Regions from separate parts of the Homo sapiens genome. Here region 1 is linked to region 2. Evidence: promoter capture Hi-C in human tissues and cell types (Jung and others, 2019). All regions are on one chromosome and are shown on one strand. Each heading gives the region's core, a stretch centred on a gene start or on the middle of the fragment in contact. The rest is flanking DNA. Distances are from core to core; before and after follow the strand shown. Region 1 holds the start of PITPNM2 (phosphatidylinositol transfer protein membrane associated 2). Region 2 holds the start of ZCCHC8 (zinc finger CCHC-type containing 8).

Region 1 (3,717 bases), core at 1,133-3,632, 650 kb before region 2:
CTTTCTGAAATAAAAAAGTAGATTATGTCCGAAGCAGTTGACCTAAAAACTGCCTTGGACTGACATTTGTTAGGTGGTCTAAGATGTTCTCTTCACGCTTTGCAAAAAAATGAGCTTTTTTGGAGTTTAAATTAAGCATCCCTCTGGTGTGTTTGGTTTTTTAGCCACCAAAAATTTAACAAATTTGATAACCTGTCACGTGTAAGTTCAGAAAGCACTTTGGTCTTAATTGGTGACTTGGGGGTTATTTGGTATAAATATAGGTTGTTTTTCTAAAAATTATTGCCAGTATCCTCCAAATAATTGCCCCTTCAAATGTTTCATCTAAAGGTGACAGCTTGTGGGCAGAACCATGCACAGGAAGTGCCTGCCAGTGGGTGTTAGGAGATGTAGGTGGAGTCTGTGATAGCCAACCAAAAGCTATCCCCTTCTCGCCCAGAAAAGCCACGTGCTTTGCTGGACGCTACTTGAAATCTGAACTCTGCACCTACATATGTAGTAAAATTAGACACTTTTGTCACTTTAATTTTTAGATTATCTCAAGTTTTCACTAGATTTCAATGTGCCACTTGTGCTATGAGTCTTTAAGAAGCTTTAAAAAATAAATGCACACCTGTAGCCTTTTACCATTCAGACAGGTAGATTATATTTACCTGTCATGAGGGACCATGTATGGTTGACAGTTGCAGGTTTGATTAAATCCACTATATTGCACAAATTTTGCTGGAAATAATTTCCTGCCCTGCCAAGAGCTCTATGGTAGTTTGATAATAAACTACTACCCCAGTATTCTTAGGAACTGTGTTACTAAGTCTTTTCTGCCTGATTTGTACTTTATTTCCATAGACCCCTCAGATATGTGAGGAATCAAGCCATAAATGTGCATTTGCTGGACATTATGTACCATGTCATCTCTATGACTACAGATTTCAAGGATAATTTTTACATCTAACAATTTCACTGTAACAGTGACCGATAATGTGAGAAATGTGCTTTTTACAGTGCTGCTGGTGGGTAGACAAGTGCTTGCTGCAGTTGTTTCTGAATCTAGCCAGATGCTGGAGTCGTGAAGCTGTAAGCTCCGCGGGAGCAGGGACCATCTCTCTTTCTTGCACTACAGGCACTCAATAAATACTTGTGGCTGTGAACTGGCGTGTGGCCTTTGTGTGTTTATTTCTGCTAGCTGGCTGCAGGAGCGGGTTGTTGGTGATTTTAAGTCCCAGGCATAGAGAAGTCCTTGAGTTATGGGTTAAGGGGCGTCCATCCAGGAGCACAGTTCCCGTTGGGACTCTGTGGGCTCCGCAGATCTTTCTGGATGGATCCTAGGGCACCTCTTGGTGGAGGGAAGGAGCTGAAGCGTTCTAGGTGATGGTGGTACGCCTTGGTCCTCCTCTGCGTGGTCATGGTCAGGGGCACCTGGAGGCGAGTCGGGAACGATGGCCTTCCTGGCCCGTTCAGTTGGGTTCTGCCGTGACCCCAGGAGGTGAGCAGCTGTCAGGGGCTCGGCCTCCCCGGCTTCATCTGGAGTCATCTAGGCCGCCTTAATTTTAGCTTGTCCTCTCTCCTCCAGGGGAGCACCGCCGTCTCCTCAGCCTTATAAGGTGACAAGTAGGGATGGGTCACACATCACTAAGTTTTAGGTGTGCTCTCTTTAGTTCCATGACTTCAGATTTTGCCAAACAAGTCCACCCTGGCTCAACCTAACAAACACCTCATGTTTTTAAGGAATGTCACCAGGCGCTCCCCCACCGGGGGCTCTTCCCATTGGAGAGCCCTGTCGTGCCAGATCATCCGGATTAAACTGTTCGTGATCCTCTTCCAGCTACTCCCTGAGGTGGGGACCGGGACGGCTGCGCTCCCGGCTCTGCCGTTCCCTGGGCCGCGGCCCGGGCGTCCTGAGGGGAGAGCGCGGACCCACCGTGTGGCGAGCACCGCGCCCGGGGCTGGGCTTCGGTGAGCTGCCCGCTGCGCTCTGCCCTCCCTGGTTTACCATTTCGCTCCTAAGAAACTTCATTTTTTAAAATGAGGCTGTTTTAAGAGTCACAGTGGCCGCAAGTCGGCCGGTTCCCGCCCCCGAGTGCGCTCGGCTGCTGCGGACGGTGGGCGAGGAGCCCGGGGCGGGGATCCGCGCCGCCGCCCCCGAGTCCAGTCCCGGGCCCTGAGGACACGGGCGAGCCGGGGAGGAGCGGGGTCGCCGCGGCAGGTCTGAGGAACCAGGCGGGCTGCCCGAGTCGGAGAGGTTTCTTCCGGCGGAGGCGGCGGGGCCGGGCCGAGACTCCGCAGGGACGCGCCCCCGCCGCCGCCGCCGCCGCTCCCCCGCGCGGCCTGAGGAGGCGCCGCCGCCACTGAGGGAATGCGAGCCCGGCCCGGCGCGCGCGGGCAGCAGCGGCCGCTGGGGTGCGCGGGGCACCGCGGCGCCGCGGCGTAGAGCTGTCCAGCCGGCCCCGGCCGCCCGCCCGGCGCTTCCTTCTCAGCTCGCGGCCGCCTCAGCGAGAGCCGCCCGCCAGCACGTGCGCCGCCGCCGCCCGCCTGCGACGCTCGGGAGCAATGCCCGCCGGGGCTCTGCCGCTCGCCCGGGGCCAGCAGGCGGCGGGGGCGCGCGGGGCGCAGCCGGCCGGGCCGGGGCCGCGGGGCGGGCGCTCCCCGTGAGGCGGCGTGAGGTGGCGGCGGCCCAGCCGGGGCCCCGAAGAGGACAGAGCCCGCGGCCGCGCCGAGCGGGGTGAGTGCGTCCGGGCGGCCGCTCCGCAGGCCCGCGGTGAGTCCCGCAGTGCCGGGCGCTGGCCGGGGACCTGGGGATCTGGGCGGCGGCTCCCAGAGAGGCCCCGGCCCGCCCGCCCGCCGAGCCTCCAGCCCGCCGGGGGCTGGAGGAGGGAGCGGAGACCCGGGCAGGGAGGAGGGTGTGGCGTACGGGAGCCCCGCTCGGGAGACCGCCCGAGCCTGGCCTCAGTGAGTCGCCGGCCCTGGATCCGTGCCCGAAACGCTGATTTCCGAATTTCCGTCGGTCGCGACCGCGTGGGGGACCCCCGCCAGGGACAAGTGTCATAGCGGTCGGGGGGCAGGCGTGGGCAGTGCCGGTGCCAGGGCGAGGAAGGGGCTATCGGGAGGAAGCGGAGGTGAGCCCCCGGCCCGCCTTCTCTGCTTCCCGCCTCCAGCTGAACGTCCCCAGGCCCGGGCCGTGGCCTCTGCTTGTCGGGGGCCCAGGGTTGGGGTGTGGCCCGTCTCCATCCTCAGTGCCCCCTTCGTGTGGTAATGGGGTGCCGGCTCTGTCTTCTTCCCACCCCGAATCCTTTCTTATCCGTGGCAGGGCTGATCGGGGGGCCTTGGGGAGAGGGAAAGTTCAGTGTCCCCCGCCCCAGTGTGCACTGCCTCCCCGCAAGAAATCCCAAACGGCCACTCCAGGTGAACATAGTGCGCGCGGTGCAAATGTCATTTCAAGGCAAGTCCTCCAGGCTTGTCCCCTTTCCACCGACTTGCTCCTGCAGAGACATCCTGCACTCCTCTCCCTCCCACTGAAGTGTGGGCTGGGTGCCTCTCCAAACACCCCGGCCTACCTGCCTCCCCCACCCAGAGTCGGGATTCTTCAAAGGAGACCTCACTGGAACATCTGTCTTTGTCCACAACCAGCTCTCTCCCCGGCCTCCACCTGGGAGTGACCAGAGCTGCTAGGATAGACCCCCCACTTCTGGAGGGAAGGCAGTAAGTGCTCCCCTTCATCTG
Region 2 (3,857 bases), core at 1,038-3,537:
AATAATTAAAAGATGAAATTACAGTTGTCCCTTGAACACATGGGTTTGAACTTTAGGGTCCACTTACATGCAGAATTTTTTTTTCTTTTTTTCTTTTTTTTTTTTTTGTGAGAGACTCTTTTGCCCAGGCTGGAGTGCAGTTGCATGATCCTAGCTCACTGCAACCTTTGTCTCCTGGGTTCAAGCAATTTTCCTGCCTCAGCCTCCTGAGTAATTGGAATTACAGGCACCCGCCACCACGCCCGGCTAATTTTTGTATTTTTCGTAGAGACGGGGTTTCACTATGTCAGCTAGGCTGGTCTTGAACTCCCGGGTTACACCATGTTGGCCAGGCTGGTCTTGAACTCCTGACCTCATGATCCACCCGCCTGGGCCTCCCAAAGTGCTGGGATTACAGGCGTGAGCCACCACGCCAGGCCTCATGCAGATTTTTCAGTGAAAGTAAACCTGGGAGGCGGAGGTTGCAGTGAGCCGAGATCATGCCACTGCACTCCAGCCTGGGTGACACAGTGAGACTCTGTCTCAAAAAATAAAATTTCAAAAAAAAAAAATTTAAATGGCCAGGCACAGTGGGTCATTCCTGTAATCCCAGTATTTAGGGAGGCAGAGGCAGGAGGATAGCTTTAGCTCAGAAGTTCAAGACCTACCTGGGCAATATAGGGAGATCCTGTTGTCCACAAAAAGAAAAAAAAAATGTTAAAATGTGTAAGTGACTTCCCAATGTTGTAAACGGAAAGAGGCTTCCTTAAGGGCCTTTGAGCACTGACCTAGCAGTGTTCCAACCTCATCTTGCTCCACTCTGCCTTTTCACTCAACATGGTGGTCCTTACACCTAAGACACTCTTCCATCCTCCCACCCCCAACTTTGCCGATCCTTAAAGTCTCACTTCCTCACTTTACTGACTCCCACAGACTAGGGTGTTTGTTAAATATTCATAACTTCCTGTGTTTTTCACCTTTTTTTTTTTTTTTTTTTTTTTGAGACAGAGTCTTGCTCTGTCGCCCAAGCTGGAGTGCAGTGGCACGATTTCGGCTCACTGCAACCTCTGCCTCCCGGGTTCAAGCGATTCTCCTTCCTCAACCTCCTGAGTAGCTGGGATTACAGGCGTGTGCCACTACGCCTGGCTAATTTTTGTATTTTTAGTAGAGACAGGGTTTCTCCATGTTGGTCATGCTCGTCTTGAATTTCTGACCTCGTGATCCACCTGCCTCGGCCTCCCAAAGTGCTGGGGTTGCAGATGTGAGCCACCGCCCCCGGCCCACATTTCTTTGTGTGATCAATATCCATCAACAACCATCTCGACCCAAGAACAGGAACATTTATAATTATGGGGTTTTTGTTGCTTTTTGTGGACTACAGCCTTCGTGAGAGGAGGAATTACTCTATTGTGGTTACTCTTGTAACCATACTCAGGTCCTAGACAAGTGCCTGGCCCATCGAAGGTGTAAGTAAATAATGTGATTGAATGACAGAAAGCCTCAACAGACAAATAGTTGAGTCTAGCTAATCTTACATTAAAAACGAAGCAAGCTCAATAAACTAATCTACAACAGTCATCTCTGTAGCAAAGCTGGAGTTTCTTATTCTCTTTTATGTTTATTTTTATTCAGTTCCCTTTCAGGCTATGGAGTTCCTTATTCTCTGGTGTGGCACGCACACCAGAATCTGTGAGAAGCTATGCGTCGTGCTCTGATTTTTCACCCTTAGTTGCCTAACAGGAACATCCCATACTGGTTTTTGTTTTTCTTTTTCTTTTTGAGACAGGGTCTTGCTTTGTCTCCCAGGCTGGTGTGCAGTGGCGCCATCTGGGCTCAATGCAGCCTCGACCTCTTGGGCTCAAACCCTCCCGCCTCAGCTTGCCGAGTACTTGGGACTACAATCGCCCAGCTAATTTTTATATTTTTTTGTAGTGTCTGGGTCTCGCTCTGTTGCCCAGGGTGGTCTCCAACTCCTGGGCTCACGTGATCCTCCCACCTCTGCCTCCCGAGTAGTTGGTATTACAGGTGTGAGCCACCCCGCCCTGCCCCCAGATTGCTTTAGCGCATTCTGACCTACTCCAGCTTTCTTCACATTTCAAAAAGCACCAATCCCAGGATGCAATGCAGACAATGAGTACCAGTCGCTTAGAAACCACACGTCCCAGCATGCCGTCCTCCGGGCAATCGCAAGCCCGATAGGCCCCGCTGCATTCCGGGAGTTGTAGTCTCTAGCGACTGGCCCCGCCCCGTGTGCAGCTTTCGCGGCCTGCGTCTGGAGAAAACCCTAGCGGGTGGCTCCGTGCGGCCAGAGCTCTAGAGAGTGGTGCCGCCTTCCAACCTTCTTCCCCAAGCCCTGGTGGCCGGCTCCGCCTCTTCTCGAATCTTTTCCACAGCCCAAAATGGCCGCAGAGGTGTATTTTGGCGATCTAGAGCTCTTCGAGCCGTTCGACCACCCAGAGGAGTCGATTCCGAAGCCCGTTCACACTCGCTTCAAGGACGACGACGGCGACGAGGAGGACGAAAATGGGGTCGGCGACGCGGAGCTACGGGAGCGGCTTCGGCAGTGCGAGGAGACCATCGAGCAGCTCCGCGCCGAGAATATCCTTTCCTCTCGCTGGGCCCTGTCACCCGGGTGTGGGGCCGGGGCAGCGCCAGGCGTGGGGCCGGGGCAGCGCCGGGCGAGGGCGAGGGCGCGGGCGGAAGTTCCAGGAGGGCCAGAATTCCAAGTGCTTTCTGTCACCCGCCGGCGGACCGAGAGTCTAGGGTTCGGGGCGCGCAGGCTGCCTCGGCGCAGACCTCTTCCCCTCAGGGAGGCCGTCTCCTGACCAGACCCACTCCTGCCTCCCACCCGGGTGCCGTGTTTAGGGTTATTTTAGGCTGCTCACCTGACAGATTGTACACAAGCCCTTAATTGCCCCCCTCTGTTTGAGGTCGTGGTGAGGTTTCATATTTCGCAGCCACGCTCAAATTGTGCCGTCATGTTACAGTTGTAGGTGATGAAATACCGGCTGCTTAGACGCGGGATCGGTTTTTATACCGGGGCAAACGCTAGTGGTCCCAGAATGCAGAGTTGGGGGCCTCAAGGAATCCGGGTGTGCTGAGATAATTGGTTAATTGCTTGATTAAAATTGGGGATTAATTTTAGAGTTCTTCCACTCGGAGCTCGCTTCTGTGCTGAAGATGCTTTGCAACGCCTTGAGGAAAACGCGCCAAAGAAGTTTCTGTTAGACTTGAGTTACAAGATTGCAGATTTTTCTTGATTTGCTAGTATGTTTTTTTTTACGTTCGTAGAGTTTTATAGGTAGATAGATAACTTTGGTTCGGGTAGTTTTCCTTTTAAAATTTGTAGAGAACTGAAAGTGGCTGATATGTTAGCTTTTTTAGGGGGACGGGGTCGGGGAATGGAGTCTCAGTCTGTTGCCCAGGCTGGAGTGCAGTGGCGCGATCTCGGCTCACTGCAACCTCCGCCTCCCGGGTTCAAGCGATTCTCCTGCCTCAGCCTCCCGAATAGCTGGGATTACAGGCGCCCGCCACGGCGCCCAGTCAGTATATCAGTTTTTAAGGTTTGTGAAGCGCGATTTATTTTTTCAGAATGTCGTCTTCCTCCACATTGTGAGGAAAATTTTCAGAATACAAAAAGTTGAGGCCGGGCGCTGTGGCTCAAGCCTGTAATCCCAGCACTTTGGGAGGCCGAGGCGGGTGGATCATGAGGTCAGGAGGATCATGAGGATCAGGTGGATCATGAGGATCAGGAGGTCAGCCTGGCCAACATGGTGAAACCCCGTCTCTACTAAAAATACAAAATTAGCCGGGCGTGGTGGCGCGTGCTTGTAATCCCAGCTACTCAGGAGGCTGAGGCAGGAGAATCCCTTGAACCT

Evidence for each region. Contacts are between HindIII fragments. The study calls those that stand out against the background at their distance.
Region 1: the fragment with the promoter of PITPNM2 here is called in contact with the fragment with the promoter of ZCCHC8 in region 2 in 1 of the 25 tissues and cell types used here (IMR-90 fibroblasts).

Annotation. Positions count from the first base shown.
Region 1 is chr12:123,149,755-123,153,471 of GRCh38, reverse strand. PITPNM2 (phosphatidylinositol transfer protein membrane associated 2) reads left to right here and starts at 2,382. Exons shown (of 26, transcript NM_020845.3): 1 at 2,382-2,719. It also overlaps a transcript of MPHOSPH9 not described here. RefSeq lists silencers at 1,999-2,198, 2,219-2,478, 2,499-2,638, 2,739-2,828. The HindIII fragment of the contact is 7,714 bases long and covers 1-3,717 here.
Region 2 is chr12:122,499,362-122,503,218 of GRCh38, reverse strand. It overlaps ZCCHC8 (zinc finger CCHC-type containing 8), which reads left to right and starts at 2,287. Exons shown (of 14, transcript NM_017612.5): 1 at 2,287-2,577. The coding sequence starts at 2,379. RefSeq lists enhancers at 1,242-1,933, 1,869-2,048, 2,099-2,158, 2,359-2,438, 1,934-2,627 and 1 more and a silencer at 2,579-2,728. The HindIII fragment of the contact is 12,081 bases long and covers 1-3,857 here.